Regions from separate parts of the Homo sapiens genome. Here all the other regions are linked to region 1. The links are contacts of gene promoters, found by promoter capture Hi-C in blood cells and fetal thymus (Javierre and others, 2016). All regions are on one chromosome and are shown on one strand. The core of a region is centred on a gene start or on the middle of the fragment in contact, and the rest is flanking DNA. Distances in the headings are between cores, read along the strand shown. Region 1 holds the start of BBX (BBX high mobility group box domain containing). Region 2 holds the start of ATG3 (autophagy related 3). Region 3 holds the start of PCNP (PEST proteolytic signal containing nuclear protein).

The links. Contacts are between HindIII fragments. The CHiCAGO score rates a contact against its expected background, and 5 or more counts as called.
Region 2: the fragment with the promoter of ATG3 here is called in contact with the fragment with the promoter of BBX in region 1 in 1 of 17 cell types (naive CD4 T cells); the score reaches 6.8 in naive CD4 T cells.
Region 3: a contact is called between the fragment with the promoter of PCNP here and the fragment with the promoter of BBX in region 1, in 4 of 17 cell types (naive CD8 T cells, activated CD4 T cells, total B cells and 1 more). The highest score is 8.1, in naive CD8 T cells.

The regions. Positions count from the first base shown.
Region 1 is chr3:107,521,383-107,524,506 of GRCh38, forward strand. It overlaps BBX (BBX high mobility group box domain containing), which reads left to right and starts at 1,580. Exons shown (of 18, transcript NM_001142568.3): 1 at 1,580-1,725. RefSeq lists an enhancer at 1,197-1,246 and silencers at 1,647-1,956, 1,987-2,076, 2,187-2,256. The HindIII fragment of the contact is 5,936 bases long and covers 507-3,124 here.
Region 2 is chr3:112,560,166-112,563,475 of GRCh38, forward strand. ATG3 (autophagy related 3) reads right to left here and starts at 1,797. Exons shown (of 12, transcript NM_022488.5): 1 at 1,292-1,797. The coding sequence starts at 1,363. It overlaps SLC35A5 (solute carrier family 35 member A5), which reads left to right and starts at 1,880. Exons shown (of 7, transcript NM_017945.5): 1 at 1,880-2,108; 2 at 3,220-3,310. The coding sequence starts at 3,239. RefSeq lists enhancers at 559-1,368, 1,369-2,178. The HindIII fragment of the contact is 1,809 bases long and covers 717-2,525 here.
Region 3 is chr3:101,572,903-101,576,235 of GRCh38, forward strand. PCNP (PEST proteolytic signal containing nuclear protein) reads left to right here and starts at 1,278. Exons shown (of 5, transcript NM_020357.3): 1 at 1,278-1,377. The coding sequence starts at 1,314. RefSeq lists enhancers at 489-1,434, 878-1,147, 1,248-1,377, 1,458-1,617, 1,638-1,797. The HindIII fragment of the contact is 5,212 bases long and covers 1-3,333 here.

The sequences.
Region 1 (3,124 bases), core at 330-2,829:
CCATTGAACTCCAGCCTGGGCTACAGGGTTAGACTCCATCTCAAAAATAAAATAAAATAAAATGCTGTGATTTTTTATATACTTTTCCTTTTAAAAATGATTTTTCTAAAAAAATAAACATCACATTTCTAAATACCACTTTGTTTTCTGAACTTTTTAAACTTTTCTGATTTTGTTTCTCTTTCTCCCTCTTACACAGGAGTGCTCACATGCACACATACACTCTTTTAACAACTTTATGGATGCGAGAGAAAAACCTTAAGACAGCATCAAGGAAATAAAAGGGGAACTGAAATAAGTTGCCCTAGTTGGGTTTTCTTTAAGTTTTAAAGCTACTTACCTAGGCCATAAAATCGTAGTGTTTATGTAATCTCCAAAATGTTTGTATTTGAGAATAATTCACCAACTCTTAAAACGGAAGGAACCCTAAGAAAACATCTAGGCCTAAGATAATGCCTGACACATAGTAGATGCTGAATAAACATTTAATTGAGGGAATCTGGAAAAGCTTCTTATTTTAATCTTAAAAATCAAAACCAAGTCTGAGCATTGGAGAGGTTAAGTAACTTGCTCAAGATTGCTCAGCTGGTTAAAGAGTTTAATCTACAATTTATTCCTTCTAATTTCCAGCTTTGACTTCTTTCCACCAACCTGTTGACTTATGTGTATTGAACTGTCTCATATAATCTTCTGAAGTTGCATTGTTGAAAAACAATCAGAAAGACCAGTCCTGAGGTTCATCATCTCCAAAAGTCATGCAACATATGATGTTCACATGAGATGTGAAATATGTAAAGAGTCATATATTTTTATATATAATATGCAAAATATAAATCATGTATATATTGAATCAAAGGTCTGTTTTGAAGGCTAAGGGTCAATAGCCAATCTTCCATGACTTATTTTACCTAACAGCACAGTTTGCATGTCCACACAGGTGATGGCAGTCCACTGACCAGTTAAAAGTTGTTTGGCTATTTCAGCAAAATGTTTATCTTTGTGTGTTGTTATATTGATTTTTTTGAATCTACCTACGAATGAGGCACTAACAACCTCAATGCATTAGAGTCCTGATAAACTTATCTTGCACTATTTTGGCCTATGTGATAGCTAACCCATTGACAAAAGAAATCCAAGGTGATAAAAGCCTTTCTTGGCCACTTGTTAGCCGGGTCAGGCTGTAAAATCGTAACACAATGCAGGCCTCTTCCATGGGGCACCAAAAGGCAGCGATGAAAAACCCCCCTCACTTCCATATCCAGTGGAGTTGTAGTTTATTACCATAACCCTCCCAAGTCAAAAGGACACCAGTTTCAAGCCTTGCAACTTGGTGCAGACAGGGGTTTTCCCCTTTACCCCACTCTGCTGGGCCTCTTTACCTGTCCTCTCCTACTGTCTACAGGTCCCGAACATTAGAAAATAGAAAATGTGATGATCTTTGTGTGTCTCTGTAAAATGTGTGTATGTGTGCGTGTGTTTGGGTGTAACGGGCCTCTTGTTTGGCTGCGCGGCCTGTCCGTCACTGCGCGGGCCAATGGCAGGCTGCCTTATATAAAATGAGTGTTTTCAGTCTCTCCGGGTTGCATGTACTGTATGTGGAGCAGTGTACAGTGAAGCGGAGGCAGAGCGGCTCCGCGAGCTTCTCTCCACTTTCCCATAGAGAAACCCTGACTGGCCGCTGAGGGCTAGCTACACACACGCCCTCACGCCCGGCGAGCCCGCGAGGTAGGCGCCCCCCATCCCCAGCCCTCCCTGGGCGCACTCCCCTCACTTTCTGTTTTCCTACTCACTTGCGAGCCGCCGGGCTGCAGCCCCAAGGACTCCGCGGCAGGAGCAGCGGCGGCGGCGGCGGCGGCGGCGGCGGCAGCCGGTAGGGTGGACTTGAGGAAGACGGAGGGAACCCCGCGCGTCCGGAGCCGCCGCCAGCCGGCCCGCTCCCTGGGCACTTTCCCCCTCCGCCAAAACTTTGGGTCGGGAGAGGTCGGGGGCGAGGGTCGCGGCGGCCGCGCCGGCTGGGGCCGGGGGGCGGGGGGCGCTGAGGCAGTGCCCTGCGAGCGGGAGGCTGGGGGCCGGGCTGGGGAGTAGTAGGCCAGCCGGTGCCAGGCTGCGTTTGCAACCAGCACCTCTCGGCACACAGGCAGCGCCGCCTGAGAGGGGCACGGGCGCCGGGGCGCGGGCTGGAGCGGCCCCAGGAAAACAACAACAGAGCCCTCACGCCGGCGGGCGGCTCGTGGCCGCCCGGGGAGCCCCAAACTTCATCTCGGCGAAAGTACGTGGAGCCCTGCCTGGTCTCGGCTGCCGGGGAGGTGGGGCCTGGGGAGCAGGGGCAGTGGAGGAAGGTACGAGGAGCCAGCCTTCGGTGGATTTATTGAACGTTTCGTCTGCGTTGGTGACCGGGAACAGCAGCCCAGTTGCTCGTTCATCTGGAGAGTTGGGATTTGGGTGTTCCGGCCCCGCAGATCAGTGCCCTCTCACCCCCCACCCCTACCCAAATGCGCGGCGAGTAGAGAAAGTGCTGTTTTAGTGCCAGAGTAGCCTGGAGGAAGAATAGGGGGAGAGGGGGAAGAGGGCGAGGGAGAAGGGGAGAGAGAAGAGGGAGGGAAGGGGGGGGAGAGAGGGAGACAGAGAGAGAGGGAGAGAGAGAACGGGAGGGAAGAGAGGAGGGGGAAGAGGAGGAGGGAGGCTGTGTCAGGATTTTGCTTGAATGTGGGATTATGTTGTGTCAATAAGTTTAAGGTGGAGAGAGCGAGGCTGAGGGTGGTGGTGGAGGGGAGGAGGAAGGCCTTGGCCGTTTAAAGTCTTATTTCTGAAGGTAAGTTACGGCTTTGCCTGGTCGCGATGACAGAAAACTTGCAGATCCTTTATCCGGGGATGGGGTCGATGCCTCTAGAAAGAGCTCCCTAGCCCTCTTAAGCCACACTCGTGTTACACTGTTATTTGCTGCGATCCGGGTCGCTAGTAAATTACAGAAATCAGACTCGAGGTTTCTTTTCCTCCTCCACCTCGTCTCGCTCACTCACCCTCTGAAATTTATTATCATATTTTATTTATTTTTTGGTATTGTATGAAACTTAACATAACTGAGACCGAACCCGAGTCCTGTAATTTACAAGGACCCTGAATC
Region 2 (3,310 bases), core at 547-3,046, 5.0 Mb after region 1:
CCCGGAAACTAAAAAGTTGTACAATGGTGTATTATTAAAATACTGTATACCTAGGTAGATATGATATTCTGAAAAGTTAACATAATTATGTAAAAGCATTTGATTCAAATGTGAAAATTATTTTCCAATCTTAGTTTGACTGAATAATCTTAAAATGACTTTCACAGTAAACAAATGTAAGCAAAGCAACAGTTGAAATTCTCATTTATAATCGCTGGTTTATTTCTTACTTGGCCAATAAGTTATTCTTTTAAAAGGAGCTTTACAAAAACGTATTTTAAAAAGTATAGACCTAGTACTTCCCTTTGTCATGGAAAGGGAGCAAAGCAAAACTCTCCACTATTCTTAGCATATTAAGGTATTTCACCCCCACACTGAGATTGGTACATTCTAACTGAAAGCTTAAAAACAACTAGAAAAAAAAAACAAAAACTAAGCAAGAACTTCCCATTAATTTACTATTCTTGCTCACTTTTCAGAAAGCAAAAATGAAGTTACAACAAAACACTCCAAAAGAGTTATAAAAGAAAAGCTTGAAGGCAGTTGTAGAAATTTACCTTTAAAAAAAAAATCAGTCACTACTGTAACAGCTAATGTGTCACAATTTTTTACTTTAAAAATGCTGTACTGTTGCCAATATATTTTTAAAAATTATACAGCCAGGAAGGTCAAACCGTGCCTTGTTATCACTAATAACCAGCTACGGCTATCTGAAAAGCTTGGGAAAAAGGTTTTGCTCGTTAGATGGGTTCAAGGTTACTGAATGAGATAATGTTGCCAATTTCACCTCCTTCCTCTGAAATCTAAACGAGTTGGGATCGCAGTCACAACTTCCCCACTACAGCGGACTTTCATGAAACTTAAAGGAAAAGTGACCTCACCTCAGGTCTCTTTTGACCTCTGTGTGTCAAACACTAAATTCATTTTTTAAAGAGAAGCAAAATCCTTGCTTAAAAAGGCTAAAAGACTTCCAGTGTTTGGATTTAACGTTCTTCAATCTACTCAGCCTCCGAACACCCTTCCAACCCGACGTACCCGACCGCGCAGAGTTATGACGGGAGAAGGCAGGAACACGCAGAGCGTCGCTCCAAGTTTACCCCTGAGGAGTCAGAAAGCCCTAACGAACAGCCGGTTAAGACTACGGGTGGGGGCTGCACACTTCCCTGTGTCTCGAGCCCTACTGCCTTCCTACACCTTGCCCCGCCGGAGAAAGCGGGGACTCCTGCGGCGCCTGGTCCCTGAAAAGTCGAGCATGTGCCTGACAGCTCCCGGCAACCCTGGCCTGGCTTACCTTGAGGACCGGGGTCAGGTACTCAGCCACTTCCAGTGCCTTTCCCTTCACAGTATTAATCACATTCTGCATCCTGGGGCCGGAGTAGCGGCCGGCCCCGCGACGGGATGGAAAGTGCAGCCGTGTCAGGGGCCAGGGAGTCAGAAAATGTCCTCGCTGCCACCGACTCGCATCAGCACCCGGCTGGCAGCACCCGAGGGGACGGGACGCGACGCGACGGGACGGGCGGGACGAGGGGGCGGGGCGGCAGGCACAGCGCGCGAAGACGGGGTGCGCGATCCTCGCACCCCAGGCAGCCCGCGACGGACCGGACCCAGCTGTCACCCAGCCGCGAGGGAGGGCAGCGGGGCCGAAGGGAGACCTGAGGTGAGAAGCGGACGCACACGCACCCCTCGCCCTCTGCGAGCTGTCTGTCCTCGCTTTGCTTCACTCGCGCCCCTTCCGGCTTCCCTTCCTTCTCACTCTCTTGCCGTAGCTGCGCCGCCACCGGGGCCTCACGTGACACTAGACTCTCCCGGCACGTGACGTGAGAAAGGGGCCGGGCTGGGGCGGGATAAGCCGCTTCTCCCCTCCTTCCGGAAGCGTAACACTGAACGTGCCTGCGCAATGGGTGTCGGGTCCGCTTTTTCCCAATCCGGACGTAATCGTGGTTTTTGTTCTGCAATAGGCGGCTTAGAGGGAGGGGCTTTTTCGCCTATACCTACTGTAGCTTCTCCACGTATGGACCCTAAAGGCTACTGCTGCTACTACGGGGCTAGACAGTTACTGTCTCAGCTCTAGGATGTGCGTTCTTCCACTAGAAGCTCTTCTGAGGGAGGTAACCGCGCCCCGCGGGCAAGGAATTGCGCCTGCGTCTGAGGGGAGGGTGCGCCAGTGAAGAGCCCTACTGCGCATGTGTGACTAGAAGGGTAGTCCCTGACTGTGAAGGGAAATCTGGCCCCCTCCTGTCGGGGAGGCGTCCTGTAGGCGTGCGCCCAATGGGGCTGTCAGTATTGGCATTTCTCCCCACTCCCCGCAGGCTCTATGCGCTATTCCTACAGTACGCTGGGAGGCTTTGGGCAAGTTACTTACCCAACCTGGGGTTTAGTGTCCTCAGCCTATCAAAAGAGGGCCTTAGATTCATTGATTTCTACGATCTCCTCCATTTCAAACACTAACTAGTTCAGTAAAACTTTACAGCAGTGTTTCAGATATTTCCATTTTGGTCGTTATTGTAATGAAGTCTGTCCTAATAAGCTTTTTCCTCCGAGGGAAAAGAGGAGGAAAATACAATTCTGAAAGCCTTATCTTACAGCAAAATTATTTACTAATAAGAGTAAAAGCGAGGCCGGGCGCGGTGGCTCACGCCTGTAATCCCAGCACTTTGGGAGGCAGAGGCGGGCGGATCACAGTCAGGAGTTCGAGACCAGCCTGGCCAACATAGTGAAACCCCGTCTCTACTAAAAATACAAAAATTAGCCGGGCGTGGTGGCGGGCGCTTGTAGTCCCAGCTATTCTGGAGGCTGACGCAGGAGAATCGCTTGAGTCCGGTAGGTAGGGGTTGCAGTGAGCCAAGACCGCGCCGTTGCACTCCAGCCTGGGTGACAGAGCGAGACTCCGTCTCAAAATACATAAATAAATAAAATTTAAAAATAAAATTCAAAATTGCTTTGAAGAATTCTTTTCTGCTGTTGCAAAGTGTCATTTGCTCACCTGCTACCTTTGTCAGCAGGTCTAATCTGGTTCTACGTTTTCTGTCTCCAGAGTACTCCCTCTTATCAGATTTTCACTTTCCTTTTGTCATAGTTTCTTTATGCCTCAACTTTCTTGGTGCTGATATAGTCATAGCCAAAATTTTTTAAAAATTCCTTTTTTGTCCTCACGATCAATGGTATTTGCGTTTAGGGTCTGCCAACAAGGTCGTTCATGAAAGTGTTTTTCTCTTTAAGGTAATTAAAAAACAGTGGAATGGAAAAACAGTGCTGTAGTCATCCTGTAATATGCTCCTTGTCAACAATGTATACATTCCTGCTAGGTGCC
Region 3 (3,333 bases), core at 28-2,527, 5.9 Mb before region 1:
ACCACACTGCCCTGCTTCTGTCATGGGAAACACACTTTGATAATTTCTTCATTCTTTCTCCACTCCCTGGACTTGAAGCCCGAGAAGTAATCCATCCGCAAATATTGAACACTTTTTATATTCATATATGAAACGCACAGTACACAGTTTTTAAAAACTGGTCTCTGTTGTCAAGGAACTTTTGAGCCATTCAGAGAGACAACACTTAAAACACACACACACACACACACACACACAAACTGAGGGAAGTATGAAGTGACCAAATAATGGTATACAAAGATGATCTCATTTGATCCCTATTACCACTCTTTGAGGAGGTACTATTATTATTGCTCTTTTATAGAGAAGAAAAGGTAGCTCTGTAGGCAGTAAGCAAGTCTCAAGGTTACTCAAGCAGGAAAGGGCAAAACAGATTCAAATCCAAGTTCTGACTCCTAAGACTTTCTCTAACTATATATGGTAAGACAAACCCAGAAACTCCAGTTCCCTAAGCAAGTAATAGACCCCATTTGGCTAGGAGGGCTGGATAAATACTGAGAAAGGGGGAAGATGAAGCCGAAAAGGTAGGCTAGGGCCTAATGTAACTCACGGACTTCAGAATGCAGACTGTAGGAATCCACTAAAGGTTTCTTATTAAGGCAGAAATTACTGCAGTCTTAACTTGACATAGTAGTTTCTCAACTTGGTAGAAGCAGACTATACAAAAAGTAACTTTACAGTTGGCTACGTGACTTAGACAAATTACTCTCTCTGACCTCAACTCTTACAGGTAATTGAGAGGAGAATTCTATATTTGGACAATCGCCGTGATTAAACGAGTGTATGAAAGGCGTCTGAAGCTAGGGGGCGCTAGATAAACACTGATTTCCCCTTTAGGGAAAAAGAATGCAGGCTTTTTGTTTACATAGAGTTGGCAGGCATGCGTTATCCAGCAAGGCCGGAACGGAAGACACTCTCAGCCTCAGCTGCAACCACATCTGGGTATGCAGAAACCTTCTAAGATCCCAGCGTTTCCAGGGAGATGCTCCATTTCCCCTCACTTCTCCGGACCTGTCGCTAGACCATGAAGACCTGACTGCCCTCTAATAAAGTGCCTAGCCAGCACTCTTAGACCGCCCAACCTTCCCAGCTCTTCCTTCCGAGGCGGCTACTCGATGACATCACATCCACTTCCGCTTCCGAAGGCGGCCTCTTTTCATTCCTCGGGACCGCTCTAGGCTGCCACCACGCCGGCTGGCCCCAAAAACTCGATGGTTGTTGGGCGGGGTCGTGACGTCCTTGGCGTGGCTGCAGGGGAGGCCGCGGCGGGGAAAATGGCGGACGGGAAGGCGGGAGACGAGAAGCCTGAAAAGTCGCAGCGAGCTGGAGCCGCCGGAGGTGAACACAACCCCAGCGTCGTGGGCAGCGTGGGATGCTCCGGGCCTTTCTTTGAGCTCCCAGGGTGGGGGGAGTGGGGTGGGGCGAGAATGGGCGGATCTGGACCTCACCCGGCCAGGTGTTGGGCCCAGACCTGCCTCGGGCACGCCCGATGCGGCCCTCTGGGCTCCGGGCCTACATCGCCTCCTTGCCTGGGGAGAGCCGGCCACTGTTCGTCACCTCCTGGCCCCAGCGGAGGCCCTGATTCCGAGGAGAAGGGAGATGGGCGCCAGAAAGGGAGACCGAACTCGGGGTGGGACCAGGAGCGGCGGTGCAGGAGCCGCTACCGCCACACCGGAGACGCACATCACACAAAACACACACACCGGAGACGCTCATGAGACATAACATACACACAGTGCGAGCCACCGAGTAGTTGCCGCGGGAACTGGCCGCAGGCTGAGTTTCTGACGGTGCCGGCCTCTCAGTTACACGCAGGAGTTAATTACGCTTGCTGCTCCCTTTTCACTGAGGAGGTGGACAACTCCGGCCTGCTCTCTTTCCTTTACTTCCAAGTTTAATATTGACCCTGTGACAGGATGGGCCGAGGTGATGGAGGGGAAGAGGAATGCCTTTGCCTGCCCTCTGGTTTAAGCTGCGGGGTCTAGGGCTAAGGTTTGGTTGCTTTTCTTTGAAGTATCTCCCTTAGGCTGTTGCCAGCTGACCGCTTGCCAGATACTTAGGCGACTAAATAGTCTAGCGTGACTCTTCCTGTATTTTGTTACGACGTTAAACTCAGGTTACAGCTATCCTTATTCTGTCCATTCCACTCCCTAAATTCGGGTCTTGTGCGTGAAGGAAAAGAAACGTAATCTCTCCAGCTCCCTCTTTGCACATAACAAGACAAGTGACTTAACACGTGCGAGCTGTTTAAAATGTTTTTAGAACATTTTAAACATTATTCTCTATTCTGACCACCTTAGTTATCATTCCCGAAATTATTTAATATGAGAAAATAGAAACGATTAATAGCATATGAAGGCCACTAGTAGACCTACTAACATAATGTTTCATGTTAATTGCCTTGGGAACAAAAATTATTGAAAAGATTAAGTGTAATGTTAATTACTTTGGACCCAGGATTTCCTTTTTAAAAAACACGTACAATTCTGTTAGTTAAGCTGGAACTCCATCTCTCTCTTCCCTCCCCACCCCCTGTCTTTTTTTTTTTTTATAACTAGTAAAATACCTTATGAAAGAACAATTTAAATTTAAACCATCTACTACTTTCTCACTAGGGAATTTTTTTTCCCAAAAAAATTGTATTGGAAATTGTGGGATAAAATTACATAAAAGTTTAAAAGTAGTTTGAGGAAAAGCAAAAAATTTTAGACGTAGTTTGAGGAAAAGCCTAAAGAATCATGTGTTGATTTTAAGGCCATCTCGTTAACTGTCTTGACCGAGGGTAGCAGACGTGTTTAATGTGCTGTCAAAATGTACCTTGAGTGTCATTATAAATCCACTGTATAATTTACCTGCCATTCTTTCAGTTGAGGGTTATTAGTTCTATAGTATGAATATTGATGTTTCCATTTTAGCATGTGGGGAGAAGTAGTAGAGAATTACTTTGCTAATTGGTATCAGAAAAATTATTATGGTCTTTTTCTTGGTAACTTAGAGTAAGTAAATATCCCTTAACTTCTACATAATTTGTCTCCTTGCCGTTACAAGAAAGTAGTGCTGTTAAGTTTAAGCCATTTTTGAATGTCAGATATTTTTAATGAAATTGTGCATAGGAATCATAGTTAAAATATGTCATACCATGGATATTGCAAAATTGGTAATTTTGTGGCAGATAGTCACTTTTTTGAAAACACTGTCAAGTTTGTCTTAGGGGCTTAACTAGAGAATATTCTGAATTTTAATTCCTGTCGAGCAGTCTACTAAGTTGGAAGTATAAGTTTTTTTTTTTTATGA